Linked DNA regions of Homo sapiens: regions 2, 3, 4, 5 and 6 are each linked to region 1. The links are contacts of gene promoters, found by promoter capture Hi-C in human tissues and cell types (Jung and others, 2019). All regions are on one chromosome and are shown on one strand. Each heading gives the region's core, a stretch centred on a gene start or on the middle of the fragment in contact. The rest is flanking DNA. Distances are from core to core; before and after follow the strand shown. Region 1 holds the start of CDK12 (cyclin dependent kinase 12). Region 2 holds the start of NR1D1 (nuclear receptor subfamily 1 group D member 1). Region 3 holds the start of MSL1 (MSL complex subunit 1). Region 4 holds the start of RAPGEFL1 (Rap guanine nucleotide exchange factor like 1). Region 5 holds the start of PSMD3 (proteasome 26S subunit, non-ATPase 3). Region 6 holds the start of LASP1 (LIM and SH3 protein 1).

What was found. The method cuts DNA at HindIII sites, captures the fragments that hold promoters and counts their contacts. A contact is called where the count stands out against the background at its distance.
Region 2: the fragment with the promoter of NR1D1 here is called in contact with the fragment with the promoter of CDK12 in region 1 in 1 of the 25 tissues and cell types used here (lymphoblastoid cells).
Region 3: a contact is called between the fragment with the promoter of MSL1 here and the fragment with the promoter of CDK12 in region 1, in 1 of the 25 tissues and cell types used here (liver).
Region 4: the fragment with the promoter of RAPGEFL1 here is called in contact with the fragment with the promoter of CDK12 in region 1 in 1 of the 25 tissues and cell types used here (hippocampus).
Region 5: a contact is called between the fragment with the promoter of PSMD3 here and the fragment with the promoter of CDK12 in region 1, in 1 of the 25 tissues and cell types used here (heart right ventricle).
Region 6: the fragment with the promoter of LASP1 here is called in contact with the fragment with the promoter of CDK12 in region 1 in 1 of the 25 tissues and cell types used here (hippocampus).

Annotation. Positions count from the first base shown.
Region 1 is chr17:39,459,107-39,463,192 of GRCh38, reverse strand. CDK12 (cyclin dependent kinase 12) reads right to left here and starts at 1,707. Exons shown (of 14, transcript NM_016507.4): 1 at 76-1,707. The coding sequence starts at 1,121. RefSeq lists enhancers at 926-1,055, 81-1,280, 1,446-1,505, 1,596-1,645, 1,006-1,930. The HindIII fragment of the contact is 12,986 bases long and covers 1-4,086 here.
Region 2 is chr17:40,097,836-40,102,141 of GRCh38, reverse strand. NR1D1 (nuclear receptor subfamily 1 group D member 1) reads left to right here and starts at 1,553. Exons shown (of 8, transcript NM_021724.5): 1 at 1,553-2,078. The coding sequence starts at 2,048. RefSeq lists enhancers at 1,188-1,307, 1,788-1,857, 1,323-2,306, 2,307-3,291, 2,210-3,409 and silencers at 2,639-2,728, 2,739-3,088, 3,612-3,906. The HindIII fragment of the contact is 7,590 bases long and covers 874-4,306 here.
Region 3 is chr17:40,119,693-40,123,879 of GRCh38, reverse strand. It overlaps MSL1 (MSL complex subunit 1), which reads right to left and starts at 1,909. Exons shown (of 9, transcript NM_001365919.1): 1 at 500-1,909. The coding sequence starts at 1,267. It overlaps LOC124904001 (a long non-coding RNA gene), which reads left to right and starts at 2,040. Exons shown (of 2, transcript XR_007065752.1): 1 at 2,040-2,096; 2 at 2,467-3,351. RefSeq lists an enhancer at 430-1,068 and silencers at 769-1,218, 1,269-1,318, 1,419-1,558, 1,619-1,828, 1,869-2,068 and 1 more. The HindIII fragment of the contact is 12,972 bases long and covers 1-4,187 here.
Region 4 is chr17:40,176,184-40,180,386 of GRCh38, reverse strand. It overlaps RAPGEFL1 (Rap guanine nucleotide exchange factor like 1), which reads right to left and starts at 2,917. Exons shown (of 15, transcript NM_016339.6): 1 at 2,006-2,917. The coding sequence starts at 2,525. RefSeq lists enhancers at 934-1,788, 1,789-2,645, 3,037-3,537, 3,538-4,038 and a silencer at 2,876-3,005. The HindIII fragment of the contact is 8,651 bases long and covers 1-4,188 here.
Region 5 is chr17:39,979,070-39,983,321 of GRCh38, reverse strand. PSMD3 (proteasome 26S subunit, non-ATPase 3) reads right to left here and starts at 2,515. Exons shown (of 12, transcript NM_002809.4): 1 at 2,132-2,515. The coding sequence starts at 2,351. RefSeq lists a silencer at 2,175-2,224 and enhancers at 1,627-2,604, 2,405-2,684, 2,905-3,084, 3,506-4,252. The HindIII fragment of the contact is 7,545 bases long and covers 1-4,252 here.
Region 6 is chr17:38,867,768-38,871,885 of GRCh38, reverse strand. LASP1 (LIM and SH3 protein 1) reads right to left here and starts at 1,828. Exons shown (of 7, transcript NM_006148.4): 1 at 1,628-1,828. The coding sequence starts at 1,696. It overlaps TRC-GCA4-1 (tRNA-Cys (anticodon GCA) 4-1), which reads left to right and starts at 2,523; the gene lies at 2,523-2,594. RefSeq lists enhancers at 1-566, 1,579-1,728, 3,219-3,398, 2,974-3,574, 3,575-4,118, silencers at 1,169-1,268, 1,789-2,098, 3,519-3,618 and a cis regulatory region at 3,836-4,118. The HindIII fragment of the contact is 16,045 bases long and covers 1-4,118 here.

The DNA.
Region 1 (4,086 bases), core at 458-2,957:
CAATGTTAACACGCTGAATGCCAATTCCTCGCAACCCACCCTAAATGAGGAAGGACTGTTAGACAAATAGCTCACCTGGGGAGTGGACTCCGACTCAGAGACCGCTTGCTCAGGAAAGGGCTGCTGGACCGCCTTCGACCATAGGGACTGGGCGATCGCCCGCTGTAAGAGCCACTTCTTTCGTAGCTGGACGACCGTCTCCTGCTATAGGGACTGACAGATCTCTGTCGCCTACTGTAGGGGCTCGGTGACCGGGTGCTGGACTGGTAGGCCGAAGGCTCCTTGTAAGGGGGACTGACCGACTGCCTTCTCGAGGTACTTCCAGGACTTTTCTTGTAGGAGTCATAATTGCTCGAGGTATGAGATCGTGAGGGACTAAGGTCATAATCTTGGCCATAAGAAGCTCCCGAGGGGCTATCATCTTGTTTGGAGCTGTCAGACCACTTCCTGTGGGGGCTCCTGGATCTCCGTTTTGGGCTGTCCACTGTTTTGTAACTTTTGGGTGTTTCCCTTTTTCGATGACTTTTACTCCGGTCTTTGTGCCCAGACTTCAGCTCCCGTTCTTTCCTGGTCTTCTCCTTGTGGAGCTTGGATGACCTGGATTCCTTGCTGCTGCTTTTGGCTACCTGCGCCTTCCCATAGTCATCAGTCTCCTCATTCGAACGCTTTGAACTTCCCGATATCCGGTCCTTCATCGATCCCGACTTGCTGGAGACTTCTTGGCTTTTTTCTTTTTCGGTCTGTTTAGCTTTTAGTAAGTCCCGGGAACGCCTGTGCTGGTGGTGACGATGTTTGTGCAGGCGGTCGCTCCGATCTGATCCACGACGTTCGTCGTTCTCCCTTCGGTCTAGTTTGAAGGCCATGTCATCGGAGAAGGTGTCGGAATCAGAGCTGATATCATCATACTCCACCAAAGGTTTGATAACTGTGCCCAGGGATGCTGCTTCGGGGGTCACCAACCCCATGTCTTTGGAGTGTTTGGACTTATGCCGCTTGTGCTTCGATACCAAGCGGTGACGCTCTCTGCTGTTAGAGCTGCCGCCTCCCGATGACGGCTGCAAAGTTCCAGAAGCTCCTCCACTCCCGTCCTTCTTGCCCCCATGTCTCTCTGAATTGGGCATTCCCTTTCCCCTGACCTGAAGAAGGGAAAAAAGTTCCCCAGCACTCCAAAAAGCAACCCCCACCCACCCCCCCAACCCCAACTCCACGCCCACCAAAGCGCCCCGGGAAGGGGGTGGGGAGGGCAGGGACGGTAGCCCAGGCTCCTCCTCCCTCCCGACGCCTCAGCACCCTTCTACATGAGGTGGGGGGTGAAGGAGCGAGGGAAGAAATGAGAGTTCCTCGGCAGTGGAGTTGCGAGACAACGGGGAGCTGCTCAAGTCTGTTTCCTCTTCTCCCTCCGCCGAGCCAGTCCTCAGGCCCGGGCGCCGGGGAGGTCCAGGAAGTGAGAAGCCGACGGCCCGGGGCTGTGGAGCCGACTCCAGCTCTGGGGCCCTGCGAGGACTACGCGGGCCCTTCCCCTACCCGGTAGCCCGGTTCAGGACGGCTTCCTGTCGCCGGGGTGCCGCGGCCTAGGTGCCTCACGCCCCCTTTGTCCCTCGCTCCTGAGGTAGCCCCCTTTCTTGCCTCCGTTTCACCTCCACACCACACACACTCTCTCCCTCACACAGACCCAGTCACACACTAGATTAAACCGAAACGGCACTTGGGGAAGGGGGGAGGGGCAATCCCAGAAATCGTCGCGAGAGTCCAGTAGCCTCTCGCGATGTTTCGTGCTTCGCTTTCACCTCATTCCCCTGCTTATCAAACAACGCGAGATCAGGTCCCAAACTAGAAACGCGTTTCACCTGAGTCTCGCGATGAGCTCCCGGAGCTCCCCGTTTGAGCAAAGCTTTATTGAAACGGAACAAACCGAGTTTTTTTTTTTTAACCAAAACTTTATCGGTAACTGATTAAACAAACACTCCCAGGCTCCGTGACAAAATAATTTCAACATCCTTTTTAACAAATCTTTTAACTACCAGGATGACTTTTTTTTGTTTGTTTTTTGTTTTCCTTTGAGACGGAGTCTCGCTCTGTAGCCCATCCTGGAGTGTTAGTGGCGCGATCTCGGCTCACTGCAACCTCCACCTCCTGGGTTCAAGCGATTCTCCTGCCTCAGCCTCCCGAGTAGCTGGGATTACAGGCGCCCGCCACCACGCCCGGCTAACTTTTTTGTTTTTAGTAGAGACAGGGTTTCACCATGTTGGCCAGGCTGGTCTCGACCTCCTGACCTCAAGTGATCCTCCCGCCTCGGCCTCCCAAAGTGCTAGGATTACAGGCGTGAACCGCCGCGCCGGGCCATTTTTTTGTTTGTTTGAGACAAGTTCTCTCTCTTTTGCCCAGACTGGAGTGCAGTGGCACGATCTCGGCTCACTGCAGCCTCCACCTCCTGGGCTCAAGCAATCCTCCCACCTCATCCTGCCGAGTACTTGGAACTATAGAGTCGCGCCACCACGCCGTGCTAATTTGTTTCTATTATTCGTAGTGATGGGGTTTCGCCATGTTGCCCAGGCTAGTCTCGAACTCCTAGACTCAAGCAATCCGCGATCCTTGGTCTTGAACTCCTAGAATGAAGCAATCTGCCCGTCTGGTCCTCCCAAAGTGGCGGGATTACAGGCTTGAGCCACCGCGCCCGGTTGAGATTATTTTTTACAGAGCAAAAGACAAATGTCGGGACATTTCAACCCAAGTCCCTGAGTGTTTTAACAGTGCTTCCCACATATAGGGTGTGTGCTACCTGCCAAGAATTTTACATACATTATCTCTAATTTTCACAATTATCCTGCAAAACACGAGATTTTCATCCCTGTTTTATAGAAAAGGAATCCCAGCCTCAGGGAAGTTGAATAATTTGGTCCAACAAGTGCCACAGTCAACATTCAAATTCATGTCTTTCTGAGACTAAAACACAAGCTCTTCCATCCTATGGTGTTGTCTCCTTACCAATCTTTGCTTCAAATCTCAGAACCTAAAAGCTCATCCCATCTTGAGATCCTCCCATGGCCGTTATTGGATAATTTAGCCTTTCATCCTCATACAAAAGATTATAATATGAACAAGAAAAGCATAGTATTAATTAACAAGAAAATAACACTATCTTACACTGGCCCCTCATTTATTACTTTTTAAAAAACTTTCGCCTACCTTAAGTCATTCCATCTTCACAACAGTCCTCTGAAATAGGTTGTATAAGTGAGAAAACTAAGGCATGGAGAAATGAAGGGGCTTGTCCAAAACGGAGAAGTTCAGCTGGTAAATTCAGGACCAGAAAACATTCTGAATTAAGGTAGTCTCAATTCTCAAAAATCACTCTCTGTAAATGTTCTTGTTCCTTTTGCTCACAGGGCGATCCAAAACATTTTTTTTTTTTAACCTAATTTTGTGTGTGTGTGTGAAGGGTCTCGCTCTGTCGCCCAGGCTGGAGTGCAGTGGCACAATCATAACTCACTGTAGCCTTCCCCTCATGGGCTCAGGTGATCCTCCCATCTCAGCCTCCTGAGTAGCTGAGACTACAGCCACAGGCCACCAGCCCAGCTAATTTTTATTTTTATTTTTTTGTAGAGATGGAGGGCTGGCTATGTTGCCGAGTCTGACCTCAGATGCCTGGGCTCAAGCATTCCATCCACTTTGGCCCCCAAAGTGTTAGGATTACAGGCGTGAGCCACCACGCCCGCCGTCTCTAAATGATTGAGTCCATAAATATTGGTTCTAAAATAAAAAGATCAGGCCAGGCACAGTGGCTCACTCCTGTAATCCCAGCACTTTGGGAGGCCAAGGTGGGCAGATCACAAGGTCAAGAGATGGAGACGATCCTGGCCAACATGGGGAAACCCCGTCTCTACTAAAAACACAAAAATTAGCTGGGCTTGGTGGCACACACCTGCAGTCCCAGCTACTCGTGAGGCTGAGGCAGAGGTTGAACCCTGGAGGCAGAGGTTGCAGCGAGCCGAGATCGCGCCACTGCACTCCAGCCTGGCAACAGAGCAAGACTCCGTCTCAAAATAAATAAGTAAATAATAAAAAAATTTAAAAAATAAAAAGACC
Region 2 (4,306 bases), core at 304-2,803, 640 kb before region 1:
AATTAGCGGGAGCAGCAGGTGGCTCAGGCTCCCTCTCCCTTCGCTGCCTAAGAAGCTTCCATCCCCTCCATGACCCAAGCCCTCTAACATGATAGATCTCCTCTACTTGAGATCTGTTATTACTCATGGGACAGTTGCTGCTCTGAAGCGAAATACTGGCTGTTTTTTGTTTGTTTGTTTTGGAGACAGAGTCTCACTCTATCCCCCAGGCCGGAGTGCAATGGCGATCTCGGCTCACTGCAACCTCCACCTCCCGGGTTCTAGCGATTCTCCTGCCTCAGCCTCCTGACTAGCTGGGATTACAGGCACCCACCACCACATCCGGCTAATTTTTGTATTTTTAGTAGAGACGTGGTTTCACCGTGTTGGTCAGGCTGGTCTCAAACTCCTGACCTCAGGTGATCAACCCACCTCAGCCTCACAAAGTGCTGGGATTACAGGCATGAGCCAAAGCACCCGGCAATGCTGGCTGTTTCTAACCCCTGTTCAGTATTTCACTTGTACATCTACCCACCTTCCCATTCGGGGTGGGCAGATGAAACTAGCAATGGACGTCTGACCTTGGGTCGGTCACTTCTCCTAAGCTTCCTGTTCCCCACTAGTAAAAAGAGGGAGGCTTAAGATGATCTACATGTTCCCCTCTGAGTAGTAATCTTCTGTGGAATTCATATTTTATCCTCCAGCACCGAGGGGCAGGGGTGTCACTCTGCCCCCACCCCCTGCCTCACCTCTTCCCCATTACTTTAGGACCTCAAAGCACTTTCACTATTAGTTCCCCTCTGTTGTCCTTTTTATTTCCCAGACAAAGGGAAATGACTCACCCCAAAGTCAACTGGAGTGGGTGGAATGGTGTCATACAAGCAAACAGGGAGTCCCTACAGACATCCCTACCTCTGTGGGAACTCCTTCCCCTGGAGGTGTTCTCCCTAAGGCGAGTAGAAGGGAAAGGGGGTCACATTTCCTTTCCTTCTCTGGACTTTGCCCTGAAGCAGAGGGCAGCCTAAGCTCCTGACTCCAGGGAAATCTCCCTCCCCGGCTTCTCTCTCTCCCGGTCACCAGTAACCTCAGGACGAGGTCAGTCCTGCAATCACGTGAAGCCCTCACGTTTGCAAGGTTTGCAGAAAGGGCCTCTTAGCTTTGATCTCCCAGACAGCAAACAAGCTTGCCAGTCCCTCCCCAGAAATTCACATGCCCCTGCCATACAGGCTTTCTAAACACGCCACCCTGACTCTTCAGCGCACCCCACCCCACCCCACTCTCAGCTCCTCCCAGGTCCCGGCAAGCGCTTTGCCAGGCAGAAAGGGGAAAGGCACGCAGTCCGCCCACTTTGTCGGTGGACTACAAATCCCGACAGTCTTGTCGTTGCGCAGGCGCGCAAGAGCTCAACGTGCCGGCTGTTGGAAAAGTGTGTCACTGGGGCACGAGGCGCTCCCTGGGATCACATGGTACCTGCTCCAGTGCCGCGTGCGGCCCGGGAACCCTGGGCTGCTGGCGCCTGCGCAGAGCCCTCTGTCCCAGGGAAAGGCTCGGGCAAAAGGCGGCTGAGATTGGCAGAGTGAAATATTACTGCCGAGGGAACGTAGCAGGGCACACGTCTCGCCTCTTTGCGACTCGGTGCCCCGTTTCTCCCCATCACCTACTTACTTCCTGGTTGCAACCTCTCTTCCTCTGGGACTTTTGCACCGGGAGCTCCAGATTCGCCACCCCGCAGCGCTGCGGAGCCGGCAGGCAGAGGCACCCCGTACACTGCAGAGACCCGACCCTCCTTGCTACCTTCTAGCCAGAACTACTGCAGGCTGATTCCCCCTACACACTCTCTCTGCTCTTCCCATGCAAAGCAGAACTCCGTTGCCTCAACGTCCAACCCTTCTGCAGGGCTGCAGTCCGGCCACCCCAAGACCTTGCTGCAGGGTGCTTCGGATCCTGATCGTGAGTCGCGGGGTCCACTCCCCGCCCTTAGCCAGTGCCCAGGGGGCAACAGCGGCGATCGCAACCTCTAGTTTGAGTCAAGGTCCAGTTTGAATGACCGCTCTCAGCTGGTGAAGACATGACGACCCTGGACTCCAACAACAACACAGGTACTGAGATTTCTTTACTATCATCTTTTCCCTGTCACTGTCTCCCCACCTCCATCTACGCCTTATAAAAAGAGGAACTTTGTAAGGGACTGGGGTGTCCCTCGGCCCGGAGATTTGCTAACGTGCTGCGGTGCTTTAGTGTGGGATTTCCAGAGCGGCTTGTTCGGGCTGGAAATGCTCTCAGAAACGCCCCATCACCACCCCTCAGAGTCCCAAAGCTCCCTTGAGCCTCGAATCCCTGGGCAGGAGGAAATGGAGAGGAGGTACGGGTGGTGAAGCGAAGAATTTAGGGGGACTGGGAGCTTTGGAACAGTGCCCCGAAACGGCCCCATCTGTCCACTACCTGCAGCTGTAGTATGCCTGGCCTCAGAAAACGGACCCCCTCCCCTCTTGTCTTCCCCCTCCTCTAGTTCCTGCAGGCGCGAGGGAATCTGAGAAGAGTGGCGCGATGGGGTTCAGGGAAGGAGGGGCTGGGAGAATCGTTCGGATCTCACTGGGGAATCCTCAGTGACAGGAGGGAGCGACACTTGAGGAGTCCAGAGCGTGGTGCCCGGCCCGAGGGAGGGCACCTACAGGGCTCCGGCCGCCGGGAGGGCTCACATGGCTCTAGAGCCGGGCCCACGTGCTGCGTTTGTTTTCATTCAGCAGAAGCCGTGGCTGCCACCCCATTGGTCGTTGCCTCCCGGCCTCGTTACATAATGAGCTCCGCCCCCCCGGTCGCCCCGGCAACGCGTGTTCCCTTCTCTCCTCCCCTAGGTTGTCCTGGCCCTGCTATCGTTCGGGGTCCAGCCCACGACCTGGTGGCCGGGGAAGGGCGGGTAGGAGGCGGGGCGACTGCTCTCGATTGACGGGAAGCGAGGAGGGCGGGGCCTCGAGTTCCGGGGTTCCTCGTTGGGGAGCCACGTGCGAGAGGCACACGTGGAGCAGGGACGTGAGGCCGGCTGAGGGCCCAGCTCCCGCCCTGCCCCGCCCCGCCGAGATCTGGGTGAAGCTGGGCTGACTCACCGCCCCCGCCTGCCTCCTTTTCCGGTCCGCCTGCCCGGCCCCCTCCCCCATCACCAAAACAAAGTAACATGGAGCCATTCCTGACCTTTCATGGCCTTCTGTTTTACACTCCCTAAAGAGACCTCACCCCTAACCACCCTTCTCACTCCTTTCCACTTCACTCTTATTTGCACCTACTTCACCGTACTGCATTTAGACTCAGCTTCCCCACATTACAAATTCCTGTTCCCCAAGCTTCTCTCTCCTTAGTTCTGCGAGCATTGTCTTACCCCCATCTCCACCAGACAAGCTGCAGTTTGCCTACTAAGGGCTCCCCAAAGCAACTGCACCCCACAATCATAGCTGAAATGATACTGTCCTTTTTTTCTCACAGAAAGGAAAACTGAGACCCAAAGAGGGGAGTTGATGTCCTCTAGGTCACAAAATAAGTTGGTAGTGATGGGTCTAGACCTAGACCTAGACTCTTGAGTATGCTCCTCACTTCCACGTTGGAAGCCTCTGCATGAAGGTCTCACTCCTTTTTGGGGGATGGGTGAACTAGGTCAACTTCATTTACTGCCAACTAATGATTCCATCCCCCACCTCAGCCCTGAAACCGGGGGAGCTGATCTGTTGTGCAACTATTTTCCAAGGAGCTGGGTTCACCCTGACCAACCTTGAGCTATTTTAGGGCCGCCCTGCCCAGTTCAGTGTGTGTCAGTGGGTGAGCAAGACATGTGCCTCTGCAGACACAGTGGCATGGCATGTGTTAGGTCACATGTGTCCTGGGATCCTCCCTTCTCCCACCCCGCCCATGGCAGACCAATCTAGGTGCTTGCCGGAGGTGTGGCAGGCAGGTCACCTTTTTCTCCTGCTAATACCACGGGAGCACAGCCACCTCATTGGCAATGTAACCAGAGGGTCAAAGTCCCTGAATGGCCAGAGAGCCAAGGTCATTGTTACCAGGCTGAGATCTGAAGGGGGAATTTTAGAGCCCCAGGCTGGACAGTTTGTACTTCCACCTCCTGCAACTCGCACCTCGAAGTCCTTTTTGGACACAGGGATAGACTCCACTGTGGCTCACTCTCTTAAGAGGCCAGGGGAACCAGGCTGGGCAGATTCCTTCCCTTCATTTCCTTCAGAGAATATATGTCCCCAACTGGGGGGAATGTGACTGTCTTACTTTTGTAAACCCTCCATTCTCTTTACTGTTGGCTACCTATCTCTCCATGGTCCATGGTCTC
Region 3 (4,187 bases), core at 660-3,159, 660 kb before region 1:
GTAAATCACCTCTACCCCTGTGCCCACTAAAAGGCCTACTGCCCTCCTATCTAAAGATGCTGCAGCAGTGGTGAAAGCAACAGCTGCTTGCTACAGCCCTCTCCTCCACCGTGCATTTCTAACGCAATAGCTCTTTAATTTAACCCTTCCATAAGGACACAACACCTACACCCCACCCTTTCATTTTTAACCCCTCACAGATCACGTCTTTTTCCACTAAACGTCTTTCCCACACGTCTGGGGCTGTCATTTTAAATTAACCCTTTGGCACCTGAAACCCCTCCCCCTCCCCCTGAGAGGTTGCCCTTTAACCCTTCCCTCCAACCCAACGTGTCTGTGAGCCTGGCTCCCAGAGACCCAGCGCCTAAGATACTCCTTTGCCGGTGGCCAACCTCCTTTACCCCTAACCCGGGGGTGCCTTAACCTCCTACAGCCCCCTTCCCCCGAGCATGCGCACAACTCGCTCCTCGGCCCGAATGCAGATTAACCCCTCCCGTACCGTGTCTCTCTCTGACTTCAGCTCCTCGATCTCCTTTTCCTTGGCCTGCAGCTGCTGCTGCTGCTGTTCGATGAGGTCCAATTGCAGCAGAAGGATCTGTTTGAGGCAGGCGGCCTGACTGGAGGCTCCCGAGCCGCCACCACCCCCGAGAGGGCTCTTCCTCATACTCTTCCATCTGCCCTCGCTGGCCGCCAGGGTCCCGGCGGTGGCGGTGGGCGCGAGGGGTGGCGGCCCGGGCAGAGGTAGTGGTGGGGGTCCCGCCGGGTCCGAGGCGGTGGCAGCGGGGGAGGCCGCCCCACCCTTGTCCCCAGCCCAGGGCGTAGGCTCTTTGGCCGCCGCCACGAGAGAGCCCGTCTGAATGGGCAGCACCGCCTGATACTTGGGCCGGGGGCTGCAGCCGGCTCCGGCTGCGGCAGGCTCCCCCCCAATGCCGGCTTGCTTGGTGGCCGGGGGCGGACAGGGCAAGGGCACCGAACCGCCCCAGCTCTCTTCCTGCTGCCCGGGGGCCGCCCCGGCCGGGAGTAACAAGCCCCGGCCCTTGCCGCCGCAGCCGGCCGGGGAAGGCGCGGGGCTCCCGCCCTGGGAGGAGGCCAGCGGGGGCCCCGGCTCCTTGAGCTTACGGTGCCGGGGGAGGAAGTGGGCTTCGGCCGCCCCAGGCTCGTCCTCGGGCCCGCCCAGCGCCGCAGCCCGCTCGTAGTCCAGTCGCTGCTCAGGATTGCCGCCGGCAGGGGCCGCGGCCGCCTTGAACACCGCGGATCTCATGGTCATAGTGGTCCGGAGCAGCGCCGGGCACCGAGGCGGAGGAGGGGGTGGGGAAGGGGCGAGGTGCGGGGGGTCGAGGACTGAGGGGGGGGAGGGGAGTTTGGCGGGCTCGCCTCAGCAGCGCGGCAGCAGGCCTCCGCTAGCGCGGCTCCTCCGGGGCCCGGGCGCCATCCCGCCGGCGTGCGGAGACGTGGAGGCCGCGGCTGAGGCCCGCCGCCGGCCCATGGGGGCCTCGCCGCCGCCTCTGCTGCCGCCGCCGCCGCCTTCGCCTCAGAGGCAGGAGCTCGCACCCAGCCGCCCCCGAGCTCATCCCCGGAGCTCGCTTCGGCCCCCCCTGGCCCGGCCGGGCCCGCCTCGTCTCCCCACCCCGCACCCCCCCTTCCCCGCCCCGGCCCCCCGCCCCGGAGCTCGCCTCAACCGCCCCGAGCCTCCATTTCCCCCCCCTCCTCCTCAGGAGGGGGTGGAGGGCTGGGTCCGCCCAAAGCCCTCCTACTCCGGGAGAGGGGGTCTGTCGCCTCTCCCGGGGGTCTCCGCGGCTCGGGGTCCCCCTCCCCCACAGTCACCCCCGGCGCCTCAGCGTTTCCCTTTAAAAAAACGGAGCCGCTCGTAGCCGCCACCGCCGCAGCCGCCGCCAACCGGAGGACGCATGCGCGGGGAGGGGAGCGGGCGGGAGTGCACCGGGAGCCGAGAGGAGGGAGGCGGGCCGCGCTATTGTGAAAGGGGCCGCCGCCGCCTCGAGGGGGGCAGGGAGGGGACCGCGGGGGCCGGGGGCCGGCGAGGGGAGGCCGGGGCTGAGGGGCGAGGACCGAGGAGCGCGCGGAGGAGCGGGGTGAAGGTGGGCTGCCGAGGGAGGGGCGAGCCGGGGGAGGGTCTGGAGGGGGAAGAAGGGCGAGGGCGGCCGCGGGAAGAAGGGGAAAGCGGAGGCTCCCCGGGAAAAAAGCGCGAGAGAATGGAGTTGAGAGGAAAGAAGGAGGATACAGGCGGCCAATGTGTGGCCTACGTGGGAGCGCCCCGAGCGCTCCACGTCCCCGGCCTGCGCCGGGCGGCCCCTTCCCCGGGCATCTTGGCAACGCGCCTGGCCCAAGCCGGAGGGGCCCCGCGGCCCCGCACGCCTCCTGGACCAGTCAGGATCCAGGCTCCTCTTTGAGCCCGCGGGTGTTTCATGGGGGTAGAAGTCTAACCCCTCCACCCCCTCTCCTCCCCAGCAGTCCCACGCGGGTATGGGAGAGAATGAAGTTCTTTGTCTCTAAGGGATTCAAACCAGAAACGGAGGGACCTCTGGTTCCCAGAGGGAGGAAAATCCATGATGTCTGCTGCCCAGGGAGCTATTGCCACCGCCTCCTTGGGATGAAGTATTGCCAGCTACCAACAGTTCCTTCCCAACGGCCATCTTCCAGCCTTCTTAAACGACTCCTAGCATCTTCGGGAGGCTCCTGAAGGACTGAAGCAAAGGAAATCTCTGAAGGGATTTAGTCCTTGAAAGGGAGTAGGGATACTTAGGGTGTTCTGTGTTGAGCGCTTCTTCCTATCTCTCCAGCTTCATGTATGTGTGTCTTTATGTCCAAGCAATTGAGCCAACAAGTCCTCAGAATTCCTTGTGAAAAAAACGTTTTTTTTTTTTGAGACGGATTCTCACTCTGTCGCCCAGGCTGGAGTGCAATGGTGAAATTCAGCTCACTGCAACCTCCGCCTCCGGGGTTCAAGCGATTCTCCTGCCTCAGCCTCCCGAGTAGCTGGGATTACAGTCACGCGCCACCACGCCCAGCTAATTTTGTATTTTTAGTAGAGACAGGATTTCTCCTTGGTCAGGCTGGTCTGGAACTCCCGACTTCAGGTGATCCGCCCGCCTCGGCCTCCCAAAGTGGTGGGATTACAGGTGTGAGCCACCGTGCCCAGCCCTGAAATAGTCTTAATTGCTTGTTTTTCTTTTTTGTCTGAGGTGTGCTTTTTAAAATCTCTATGGAGATGGAGAAGACTGACATTCTCTGGCCTGATGTGAAAACCTCTCATTAAAACTGTGTCTGTGCTTTGTGGGCTGAAAGCATGAAACACTGGAAATTTTAAACAAACGTATGTGAATGTGTTAAGAAGCCAAGAGTCCGGCCCTCTTTCACCAGACTGTATGGCCTCAGATCAGCAAGGGAAGTATTGAGCTTAGGGACACCAAGTAATGGAGTGAGCAGGGATGAGAGGGCACATAGAATGTGGTGATCTCTTTCCATGTCAAGGCTTGTGTGTTTGTGGCACTGGGGTCTTGCTGTGTCCCCAAGGCTAGAGTACAGTGGCACAATTATGGTTCACTGCAGCCTCAACCTCCAGGGCTCAAGTGATCCTCCCACCTCAGTCTCCTAAGTAGCTGGGACAACAGGCTTGGGCTGCCACACCTGGCTAACTTTTTATTTTTTTGTAGAGACGGGCCTTTGTAATACCAGCCTTTGTTGCCCAGGCTGGTATTGAACTCGCTCAAGCGATCCTCCCACCTGGGCGTCCCAAAGTGCTGGGATTATAGGAGTGAGCCACTGTGCCCAGCCTTCAGCGTCAAGACTTTCTGCACCATCTCTACGCTGACAGCTCCGTAATTTATATTTCTTTCTGGACTCATCCCCTAACTCCAGAATCATATATCCAACTGTCTAGTATACATACCCAGTTGGATGTCTAATAGGTATTTCTTTTTTTTGAGGTGGAGTCTTGCTCTGTTGCCCAGGCTGGAGTGCTGGAGTGCAGTGGCACGATCTCGGCTCACTGCGAGCTCCTCCCGGGTTCACGCCATTCTGCCTCAGCCTCCCCAGTAGCTGGGACTACAGGCGCCTGCCACTACGCCTGGCTAATTTTTTGTATTTTTTAGTAGAGACGTGGTTTCACTGTGTTAGTCAGGATGGTCTCATCTCCTGACCTCGTGATCTGCCCGCCTCGGCCTCCCAGA
Region 4 (4,203 bases), core at 1,668-4,167, 720 kb before region 1:
GAATTTCCCAAACTAGTTACTCTGGGGATCCAGGCTGCCAGATAACATGGGTGACATTTCAGGAGTCTTACCCCAGGGGAGAATGAGCGGAGCGTGTGGCACCAGGCCCCTGTAAAAGGGGAAAGACAGCTTCTCCCTTTTCCTCCCTGCCCAGCTACCCTGCTGTGTTCTTACAATGAGTCAGAGAGCCTCCAGCTCTGACCCCCAGCTTCAGGGATGAGGGTGAGGAAACGAGAGGCCTGACATCCTTCATAGACTTTATCTCACAGGATTCCTAAGCTGGAGCAAAGGAAGAGTAAGATGGGGCAGAGTTGGGGAGATGCTGATATGGGGGCCACAGTTGGGCATCTGTCTTTTCCAAAGCAGGCTCTGGGCCAATGTACAGCCTCCCTAGGGAATGTGTCATAGAGACACAGGGTGTGTGGTGTAGGCGGGAAGTTATGGTTAGGAGAGCTGTGTGTGTCTGATATTTTTCTAATTAAATCCAAAAGGTGTCAGCTCCCCAGGGCAACTACAGCCTGCTCCAAAGGAGAGGACCCAGGTCTTGAGAAGGATCTAGGAGAGTGGAGCCCCCCTCCACACATCTAGGTTGGGGTTCCCTGCCGAGGGCTGAGAGCAAGTGTGAAAGCCCTCACCATTAGGGCCTCAGCCGGGGCTCCCAAACCTCAGACCCTCCTGGGCTTAGAGTAATGCCTAGAGCTAGACCTAAAGAACCCTCGGTCTTCTACCTCAGAACTAACCAGATTTGGGGCCTTGGTTTCCTCAAAGGCCCCTTAGTAGGGGTGCTGAAAGGGAGTGGTGAAATAGTATCATCATTTAGGGAATAAGCTTCTCAGGGTGTGGTGATTATATTTTAAAGAGGCCGTGTGCCAGGTCCGGTGGCTCACGCCTGTAATCCCAGCACTTTGGGAGGCCGTGGGGTGGGGGTGGGGGGAGGTAGATAACGAGGTCAGGAGTTCAAGACCAGCCTGACCAAGTTGGTGAAACCCCGAAACCCCGTCTCTACTAAAACTACAAAAATTAGCCAGGCCAGTGGCTCACGCCTGTAATCCCAGCACTTTGGGAGGCCAAGGCAGGTGGATCACGAGGTCAGGAGTTCGAGACCATCCTGGCTAACACGGTGAAACCCCTGTCTCTACTAAAAATACAAAAATTAGCCAGGCGTGGTGCCACATGCCTGTAGTCCCAGCTACTCAGGAGGCTGAGGCAGGAGAATCGCTTGAACCTGGGCGGTGGAGGTTGCAGTGAGCTGAGATGGCGCCACTGCACTCCAGCCTGGGTGACAGTGAGACTACATCTCCAAAAGAAAAAAAAAAAAAAGCCGGGTGCTGAGGCCTGCCACCGAAGGGTGGAAGCTGGAGGCGCTTGGACACCCTGGATGCTGCAGGGCCATGATGCCGGCCCAGCCACCTCTCCCCTCCCAGACACCTTCTGAGTCCAGCCCAAGGAGAATACTATCCCCCCCACCAAACTGCTAAGGACAACGCATCCCTTTGCTGATGCCTAAAAGGCAGCTTGGGGCCTGTGCCTGTCTGGCACTGCCTCCCTGGGTGGGTCAGCCTGCGCTGTGTAGGCCTCTGAACAGTCAGGGACCCCAGGGTTTTCAGGGCTAAAGCACCTCTGGCGGGTGGCATGGCTGCGCTGGGCAGCTCCCATTTTAATGTGTCAGGCCCTAATTTGGGGCCACAGGAGGAGGTATTCAACATCAGGGACCCATGGGAGTCAGTGGCTCCAATGCCCAGGGGAAAGGAAGGGTGGCTGAAGGAGAGTAAGAGGCTCAGCTGCTTCTCCAGACGAGGGTGAGGCTGCTGTAGGGAGGAAGGTGAGTACTGCTCTCCTCTTCCGCGGGAGGGTCTGTACCTCCGCTAGGCCCCTAGCCGGCTTCCGCGGACCACTCAACCCTATAACCAAGCCCCGGCACGGCGCCACCCCTACGCTCCAAGGGCAAGGAAGAGGAGCCGGGGCCAGCCCCTGCTCTGGGTGTTCGAGCCCACCGGCTCCTTACCTGAGGCGGCGCTGTCCCTGGTAGCCCCTCCAGCAAGCCGCTCCAGAACCCGGTTCAGAAGATGCTCGGGCCGCTCGGGGGCGCCCAGAGGGGCCCAGGGCGGCGAAGTCAAGGGCTCGCCTGGGGACAGCTCGTCAGATGAGTAGGAGGAAGGGGAGCGCAGGGGCCCCCCTCCCCCGAGAGGCCCGGGCCCCGGCACCTCCTCCAGCTGCAGCCAGCAGGGCCCCCCGCTGCCCGGCTCCTCCGCGACCCCCGCCGGCTCTCCTCCTTCCTCCTCAGGGGGCGGCTCCAGCCCCGGCTCGGCGGGGGGCTCCCGGAGGAAAGCGGGGAGCAGCAGGCGAGACACGCTCTGACGCCGCTGCAACGACCGCTGTCCCCCGGCTGGACCGCCGCCCCCGCCGGGTCCCCCACCCCCTCCAGGCCCACCGCAGCTCCCCAGACCCCCGCCGGGACCTCCCGCCACCGTTCGGCCCGCCAGCTGCGACGTCTGCTTCTTCAGAAATTTCTCCAGCGGCTTCATGCCCCCCCCCGCCCCTCTCCTAGGGGTCGCCGGGGGACCCAGGTATCCCAGGCGCGGGCGGGGGGGGCGGCGAAGACACGATGCTCAGAGCTGGAGGAGCAGAGTAGAGGGCCGTGCCAGGCGCCAGACTGGGGGCCAGAGGGGCCGAGCCTCGCTGGCCAGAGTCCAGTGGCCAGTAGCCGGGGGAGGTGCCAGAGGAAAGGAGTGCTCGCTCTCAGCAACCCCCCATGCCGGCTGCAGCCGGCACGCGGCCCGAAGAGTGGGCAGGCTGCGGGGCCGGTGCGCCCGGCTCTGCGCTGCGGCGGCAGAGGCAGCGGGCGGAGCGCAAGGCTGAGAGGACGCGGCGGCGGCGGCGGCGGCGGCTGCGCTCCTGGCCGTGAAGAGGGGGAAGGTGGCAGAACCGAGACCGCGCCCCCTCCTCCAGTCCCCGCCCAGTCCCCGCCCCTACCCTTCCTCGGCTCGCCCCCGCGCCGCACGAGGCTTGAACTCGCGCGCTGGGGTTGACCGCGAGGGAAACAGTAAGGGACTTGGGTTCTAAGCAGAAGAAATTAAGGGCAAAGGTAAGTCAGAGATTTACCAATGGGGAAGGATTCCTGGCTCAAGGGATAACCGGGTCTCAGCATCATTTCAAAGAGTCAGGACAGGTCTGTGGCCTGGACACCTTCACTCACCTACCTGTGTACCCAAGTCAGGCCTACAGATTGCTGAACCCAAGAGTGTGCACCTTTCTCATACTCACAGAAATATGTGGAGTTTATCTTCCTTCTGTGAGAAGAGCTGGGAAGGCCTCTTGGGTGAATTAGCATTGCCACTGGAGGCGGTGCCCATCTGTCCTCTCTGGTAGGGCACAATAGGTGGTGTGGGCCTGGTCTGTGGGCAGGTACTGGCAGGCAGGTAGGAGCCAGGCAGGGAGCAGCAGGTTGTGGCAGGTCTAGCTGGGGTGAGGAGGGGATAATAGGCAGTGGGGAGGAGACCAGGAGCACAAGGGCACCTGAGCCCAGCTGGCAGCAGAAGGAAGCAGGGCCATGGAGACAGGTGACAAGCCCCAGAACTGCCGACTATCATCAAGCACAGAGCCCAAGTGTACATGGCCATGGAGTGGGAAAAGTGGTGCCAATTAGCACTCCAAGTAATCCTTACTCCTGATGCCCACACCAGGAGCATTCTGTCCTTAAGGATATGCTGCCCCAGAAGGAGTGTGGGGGAGGAGGGGGGTGCATCGTAAAGCCATGCTAAGTGTGAGAACATCCAGGTTAGACTTACAAGGTGTGGGAGTGGCAGCAGGTTCTCGATGGGTTGAGGCTCTCTGGACAATGCCCCACCCCTGTTTACCGAGCACCAACCAGGCAGAGACAGGAATGCTAATGGCTGGGAGTGGTAGTAAAACTGAACAGGGTGTGTATGACATACGTATCAATGTATGTGCATATCTGTTCCCATGTGTGCTAGAGCATGTGTTCACAGAAATAAAGCTTTGCACACCCATCTGTTTGTGGATTTGGAAACAGTAAAAAGAAGACAGCGCACAATTTTGGCTAAGAAGCTGTATTAGAGGTCTGAGTATCAGCTTCCTGTGCTCCCCTTATTGGACACTCCAATATCCCCTGGCTTGAAAGGGGAAAGTGGCTGGAATGGGTTGGAGCTCCCCAGGTAGCATTTTATGAACTGAATAGGAAGA
Region 5 (4,252 bases), core at 1,266-3,765, 520 kb before region 1:
AGTGGCTCACGCCTGTAATCCCAGTACTTTGGGAGGCTGAGGAGGGCGGATCATTAAGGGTAGCAGTTGGAGACCAGCCTGGCCAACATGGTGAAACCCAGTCTCTACTAAAAATAAAAAAATTAGCCGGGCGTGGTGGTGGGTGACCGTAATCCCAGCTACTCGGGAAGCTGAGGCAGGAGAATCGCTTGAACTTGGGAGGCAGAGGTTGCAGTGAGCCGAGATCGCGCCATTGCACTCCAGCCTGGGCAACAGAGCGAGACTCCGTCTCAAAAAAAAAAAAAAATTATAGAGTACAGTGAAAACTACATTTCTCCTGGTATAATGTAAATCAGCACAGTTTTTCTGGACAATAACTATCAAAAACCTTTAAAATGTTCAGCCTTTTAAACTCAGGCATATAGGTTTTGGTGGGAATCTGTACTGAAGAAATAATTAGAAAAGTAGATTTTTTAAGTTGGGCACAAAGATGATTGCTTCAAAGCTATTTATGATAGCAAGAAACTAGAAACAGTTTAAATGCAAAGCAATAAGGGAATGCAATCAATGAGTAGTTTCTTAGGCACTTCTGTATATTCACCGATTAGCACAGGGTATCTGGGCCACACTAATGATATAAATAATAACAGCTGATATTTATGTGCTAGGCACAGTTTTAAGCATTTTAATGTTCACAACAACCCAATAAAGTACTGTACTATTACTTGTATTTATACAGATGAGGGAACTAATTCCAGAACTTGTACTCTTAACCATTATATTGGGTATTCAATAAATGTTTCTGGAATAAATTGAATGCTGATTATGTTTACGAATGTTAATGAAAACACATAAAATTCAAAATTTATATTTAGTTATGCCTTGATACAAACTGTATACATAACTTGCTCTCAATTATAGGAGAACAGCTCAAAAATTCACAAGAAAAAATGTTAACCATGTTTTTTATCCCCTGCTTTTAACTTCTCATACATTCCACAATTTCTGCAATGAATATGAATTACTTTACAAGAAGAAAATGAAGTGCCTGTAATAAACACACCCAGTAGGCAATGCTGAGTGGCACCTTTGACATTGCTGCCACTACTTTAGGTAAAAGGATCTCTATTAAATATCGATCCTGTTGCTCAACTTTACAGTAAGAGCTGATGTAGTCAACACCATCACATCCTCAAAAGCACCACCTAGGAGGATAACTTTGCTTATCTCAATGTTTTTGAGCTAGTTTCTCACGCATTTTAGTGAAAAGAAAACCTAGTAAGTAGTCTGGTCCCACTTGATCCAGAACCAGGAAAATGGCACCAGGATCACAGTGGGAAGCTCTCACTTTGCCCACTTCAAATGGAAACAGGACGCTGTAAGTGGGAAAAGTAAAACATGAACTTGGAGGAACAAGAGGACTACAGACACTCGAAACAGGAACCTCGGAGAAAAGAAATAGGAGACACCGGTATATAGGAGTTTAGGCCAAAGGTTGAGTATTACAAAACCAAACAAAGATGACACCCGAAAAGTTTTAAGTGTGTATGTACTTAAACCCTTTAGAAACAGAGGGGCAGTAAGGACCTGAAGGGAGGAGACAGCAAGGGGACTGTTGGGACACTTCAGTTAGAGAAGTAGGAAACAAGATACTAGGTCGAAATGGTTCATTCGGGGGAGTGTGCTAAAGGCAGCTAGGACAACAAAAATCTGCTGTACAGTTTTAAAACTCAGGAGTCAATATTCTAGGTCATCCTGGCCCTGTTTACACACAGACACAAACACTGGTTTCCAGCGGGAACAATCAGTCATATATTGGAGGCGCTAAAATCAGTCGGGTGGGATATAAACGGAATAGGTCAGAGGGGAGGACTTAAAAGAGGGAGTCCCCAGGCCCACTGGGACCTAGATATAGATGCAACCCCAGATATGGGGATGGAGGGGATGGGAGGGGAGTGGTTCCCAGCCTGGAGAGAAGGTTCAGTCATTGGGCCTGGAGTCGGGAGTGTCGGGGCAGTGGGAGCAGGTATCTGGGGGTGATCCCAAAGAACTGAGGGTGGTGGAGGCTGCTGTGGCTTCCCAGCAAGAAGCCAAATCACAGGGGTCGCTGTCACCCGCGATCGCGGCACGTTCCCGGCCTGGGCTGCCGTACCCTCCAAGGTGACTGTGTCCAGCTCTCGCTGGGAGTGCTCAGCCGCTGCCGCCGCCGTCTTGCCGTCTGCCTCCCCCGTCGACCCGCCACCCGTCGCTGCCTCCTCTTTCATCTCCACATCCTGGGGGGCCGGCGGCGGTGGGGGTTCTTGTTCTCCTCCGCCGGGCGGCGGTTTCGCCTTGTCCGCGCCGCGGCGCCGCGCCGAGCCCTCCTGCTTCATGGCACCCGGGGTCACGGCCTAGTCCGGGGACCGAGGCCGGGGCCTCGCGTTAACCCTCGCACCGGGGACCAGGAGCCGAGCCGGGCCTGCACACGAGCGCGAGATAGCGTCGGGCCGCACGATGACGGAGCAGCTGCAAACCCCTTCCCGGCGCTGGGCCTTCTGGGAAACGCCAGGCCCGGCAGGCCGATGGCCGAGTCAACAAAGGGGAAATAAATCCACAGCCGAGGTGCAGGATGAAGGAGGAGCTTCGAGGAAGGAGCGGGGAGGAGCCTTTATGGGTTCGTGGGGCTTTCTTTCGAGCGCTTAAGTGTGATGCTTTTATGTTCCTCTCGAGTGCATTTCTGTGGGCGTCCACGAGAGGTCCCCTCAGGCTCCAATCTGGGTTACAAAGGACTTTAAGAGCGCCTCAACCAGCGTGGAGTGGGTACAGCCTATCCGAGCGCGGGACGAGATGACGTCACGAGTTGCCGGGCGGGTTTTGCGCCCAAGTTCGCTCAATTTTCCCCGGTCGCGGCGGGGTCTCCTTCCAGATCCGCTGGGCTTGTGCTCAACGGCTGCCGGGCGCATCCGGCAGGAGGGAAGGAAAGAAGGCTGTGAAGGAGGGACGTGAAGCTAGGGCTGTTGGCCTTAAAATAAACCGAACTGGAGAGTAGGAAGAACCCTATGGGATCCGGACTTCCTTGGTTAGATTTGAGTTTAGTGCTGAACATAAGGCATACAATTTCTGCAGGCTGGGAGTGCCGATAGGTAGGAGCGTGCATTTGCGTAGAATCACTCCAGTTTAACAAAATATAGGGGTCCACCCTATGTACGGCCCACGGTTAGCAAATAGGGGGGTGAAAAACAGCTCAAGAATGTAGTATACGGGGGAGTCAGATGGTTAGATAAGCAGACACTGTGCTCTGGGCTGCGGTGGATTGGGAGTGTTGAGGAAAGAGGGTGGGAGCCCCTACTGGCAGACGCTTTAGGGAGCCCATTGAGAGGGCTTTTATACATCCAGACAGACATTGTGAAATGGGGAACAGAATAATGGTGTGCCTAAGGAGAGAATGATGGTTTACTTAGTGGTGTACCTAAGGGGAAGCAAATTGGACAAGAAACCCTACCCACTTATTTTTCAAAGGACTGCCCCACTGGTTCTGCAGGGAAGGTGAAACAAGGTGAAGGATATAGCTCCCAATTTCTTAGAACACACAACAAAAACTCTCTCCCTACCTTGAAACTTTTCTCTCTCCCATAAGTGGAAGTCCTGAGTTTTAGACCTTTCACGGACCCTACAAGACAATCTAGCCCTGTTGTAAGGACCTAGAAGGCAGGAAATATGTTTTGACCTCCTCCTTTGCATATATAAAGGGTATCCTGCATATCTTTTGCATCCTCTTTCATAGGATTGCAGGATGTTCCTTGCGTTAAACAGCCACTCGCTAACTGGAAAGATATGTGCTCTAGTTTTAGGGAACATGCCTTGACCAGTTCCTCCTCAACTGTCCTCTCACCCTCCAGGGCTGGGGGGTGGATAACAGGACTTTTGAATCATCATTGGAATAAACTCATTAGAACCTCTTCATAACACCATATCTGCAACTGAAGGTGGGCGAGAATGGTAAGGAAGAAAACAGATGAGTTATGTTCATCCTTAACAATCAAAGGAGTTACTCTTCTAGATAGTTAGGGTGTTAGCTCATCTCTCTATTAAGTTTACATCACAAGGAGAAAACAACCAAGTCAGCAGATAACAACCCAGTATATCCATGAGCAATAGAGTGAGGCTTTGGAAGGTGCTCAGGATCAGGGAGGCTGGCGGCATAACACAAAGCTTCTGGCAGTTGGTCATGAATTCTTGGTGGATGAGGGAACCAGGCTGGGCAGGGGGTGACTAAGACACTGGGGGAGAGTCT
Region 6 (4,118 bases), core at 579-3,078, 590 kb after region 1:
TGATAGCTCTAAGCTCAAGTCCTGCCCAACAGCGGCTGGCATGGTCATGGGGAGATCAACAACTTTCCTCGTGCCCACAATATACCCCCTCCTCTCCTCCTGCCCAGTCAAGCCCAGGACCAGGAGGAACAGTGACACAGCAGCGGCCCCATATGCCCACACTCCCCAAGAGCAAGTTCAAATATCTTTCAGAACCTCCAACCCCACCTCCTCACGCTGACTCAGAGGCCAAAGGTCACTGAGGAAGCTCACACACCAAGGGGGAGGGGAGAGATAAGGTGTCCAATAAACTATCCTCTCCTGAACAAAACCTGGCTCCAGGTCAGTAATGAACTTGGCCCCAGGGCTCTATACCCCTCTTTCATCTAGTGTTCCCACCCTTGCACCTCTCTTCCATCCAGTCCTCCCAGCCCTCCCAGTTCAGATGGAAAGGACAGAATACTTGGACTTGGAGCCAGCTTTGGGTGGTGGATGAAAGACGCGGTGAGGAAGGGCACAAAATCACAGAGGCCTCCCCTCCAGACTGGGGAGGGGATGCAGAGGGGCAGGTTTTACCTTAGGATCTTACGGAGCTTACAAGAGAACAGGATCCTACCCTAAACTGTACGGGAAACACCCAGTTCTACTCTCCAACCCCCCTCCAAAAGTCTAATGGCAACCAGATGAACAAGTCCAGCATTGGGGAGACAGGGCCCCCAGGGGACACTGAATCTCCACAAGGCCACCCTCCCCTCCCCCCAATACCTCCCCCTTTCCTCGGCTTCCCCAGAACTCAGCCAACCCCACCCTCCATTGGAGAAACCTGCTTTGAAAAGTTAGCTCTTTGTTCTTCCACACGGTCTCCTGGCTCTGAGCACAATTTCAGGAGATCTCAGCTAAGCACCCTCCACCCACCCTACTCTGCCACCCAACCCCACCCGGCTCAGGCTGGACGGCCCAGCACCGGGAGTTGGCTTTTAATTGGAGGTGGGGGTTGGGAAGCTGTGGAGGAGGTCTGCGAGTCCTTTAACGACTGAATCCAAGGGGGTGCAGGTCGTTCAAAAACGGGGCTCTTGCGGCAGAGCCCGGGTCCTTACCCAAAACCCCCCGCATCAGATGCCACACACTCGCAGGCTGATAGCCCCCGCCCCGCCAGGCCAGGAAGCCAGGCCACCCCCGCCGGAGCGGACGGTTTTGCAGGGCCCCCCAGCCTCTGCCCCGCCCCCCCGCCCCCTCCACCAGCGCCCCGCGCTTCCGCCTACTTGGCGCTCGGCGCAGAGCGGAGAGGGAGCGGCCGTCTCTTCTCACTCTCCAGGCCGTAGGGGGCGGGACTGCACCCCTAACCTTCCCCCAACACACCCCGGCGCCTGACTTCCCTGCTCCTCTCCCGTCCTCCCAACCCCGGGACACAGAGCCCACCCCTCTCCAGCAGCGGCTGCCCGCTACGCGTGGACTTCCCGCCTCGCCCCAGATCTCCTGGTTTTCAGACTGGGATGTGTCCCCACACCCCATGACACCGCCCGCTCGCCCTCCCTCCATTCTCCTGGGATCGCGGGGATAAGGCGGCAAAGACCCGGCCCTTCTCTCCTCCCTGGATTCGGAGCACTGCGGGGGATTGCAAAGACGCGTCTCCCGGTCCCGGGCTCACCTTATCCAGACAGTTCACCTTCTCCGTGGGATACACGATCTTGCCGCACCGGGCGCAGTTGGGGTTCATGGTTCCGAGAAAAGCTGGGGCGGGGACGCCTGAGCTCACGCGCGTCCTGTTCCCCGAGGCGAGCTGGCGGGAGGCGGCCGCGGCTGCAACTACACAGGCAGCAGCGACGGCGGCTGGAGCTGGGGAACTGGCCTCCGCCTCCGCCCTCCTTCCCCTAATAAACACAGCGGGGAGGAGGGGCTGCACTGGGGCGGGCACGCGCCTCGGGCGCGGGCAAGGGCACGCGCAGCGAGGCGCGCTCTCCGGGCGACGTGGGGCTGCGCGGGGGCGGGTTCCTGGGGGGACGGCGGGGCCCGCGGTGCTGGCGCCTCAGCGCTCTCAGGCTGACTGCGCCCGGTGCCCAGGGCCCTTCCCCAGCCGGAGGCGGCGCAGAGGCGAGCAGGCTGCACATCTGGGGCGCCCGGGCTGCGGGAGGCGGGCTAACCCCTCAAGCCCGTCGAGGGTGGGGTTGGATCCTCCTGAACGCTGGAACTGATTCACCGCATTCGGGGACTTTCTACCCGGCATGAATCTGCGGACCGAACGGGGACCCCCTACCCTGCCCCTCTTAGCTCTCTTCCGGCCCACACCCTTTCCCACATTTGTGGGGCGGAACCCGTCCCTCCCTCTTGGACCCTGCGCGCTGCCGGGCCCGGGCTAGTGCTTCCCTCTCGAGCCCCTGCAGTGCACCTTCCCGGGGTTCCCCGGATGCGGGCACCGTCTGCGTTCAGCTTGACCCCTTTTTCTCCAGCATTCCTTTCTCCTTCTGTTACACCACTACTCACAGTGTAGCAGCTGCAACAATGCTTAGCACCCAAGGAGCCGCCTCCAGGCGCTGTAGAGGCGCGGGGGTATAGCTCAGTGGTAGAGCATTTGACTGCAGATCAAGAGGTCCCTGGTTCAAATCCGGGTGCCCCCTCAATGGCTTGGTTTTTCCTTCCCCTTGTTAACCATCTGTTTTTCATTCTTGACTCACATTTTAACATTGGGTCCTGACTAAAAAAAAAAAAAAAAAGAAAAGAAAAAGTATCTTCCTCATTTTTCAACCTTAGCAGAAATCTTTCGGTTTTACTTTGTGCTCAGCGGGAGGAGGGGGTGGGTATAAAAGCTGCGCGACCGCATTACTCGCGCCAGAGGTGTAGGGATTTCTGCGGCCACGGGCGCCAGCCTCAGATGGGTCAGACAGTTCGAGGTGCCGGGTTTGAGGGACAGGATGTTTCCAATGGGGGTAGGGAGACAGGGGAACGCCTCAACTTGGCGTTCCTTTTGGGGGTGGAGGGTGGGTCAGGCGAGGGAAACCCATAGACACAGCCCTTCTCCAACTTCAACTTTCTGTATTAATGGTGACATGGACGTGCTGTGTTCATCCTTGACTATTAATGTACAAAAGTAAAGTTATAACCCAGTGCAAACTGAGATAAACGAACACAGTGTTTCTCAAATTTGAACGTGCATCAGAATTACCTGCAGGGCTTGTTAAAACACTGCTAGTTTCTGATTCTGTAAGGGGGCCCCGAGAATTTGCATTTCTACCAAGTTTCCAGGTGCCTCTGGTGCTGCTGGTGTGGGGACCACATTTTAAGAACCACTGAAGTAAGAATAAAAGGCCATGGAGTTTCATAACCTAAAGATGGGGACAAGTATCTGCTGGCTGCGTGCCTGACAGGGTCACTGTTGGGCCGGAGGAAAATGGTAAGTGTGACGGGAGACAAGGGCGTCCCCCTCGACTAGGTTTTGCCCAAAAAAAGGAAAAATAAAGGAGAAAGGAAGAGGCGTGCTGCCTGGGTCAAAGGGCAGCTGCGATATTTTAAACCCGGAATGTGGTTGTGTCATTCCTCGGACCCCGGGGAAACGCGCATTTTTTTCTCCTGGCTCCTATTACTGTGAGCTGTATCTCTAGGCTGAACAGAGAGATCACAGATCAGCAGAGCTGCGGTTCCGTGCAAAACCCAGGAGGAACCAGTTTTACCTCTCCTTTAGGCCTTGAACTTTCCATGTATAGCTTATCAAGCCAAAGCCCTGCCTATGAGCTGAGTCAAGAAGGAAGAGGGGAAAATTGCTCGCTGTCTACCTTCTATCTGTGTGCCCTGTCCTGTTCGAGTTCGCGAGTATATGAAAACCTCTGAATTTGGATTACTTCTCCTAGTTTTCATAGTCAAGTACGAACTACTGCCCCGTCCAAGACATATTTTTTACCCCAAAACAAATTATAATTAACGTTAAACCAATGGGCATCGGAGATGGAAATCGATACGCGCCTTTGTTCTCCAACTGAGAGTACTGGTGCGCTTATCGCCACTTGGGGTATGAGGGCTCAGATCCACCTAAAGGCAGCCTCTGGTTGCTGTTCTCTCCCTCTAGGGTACGGGAATCCTTTCAAGGTGAAAATTAGGTAGGTGGAAGATACAAACGACACCTCCCGTGAGTTTTGCATTCAGAACTC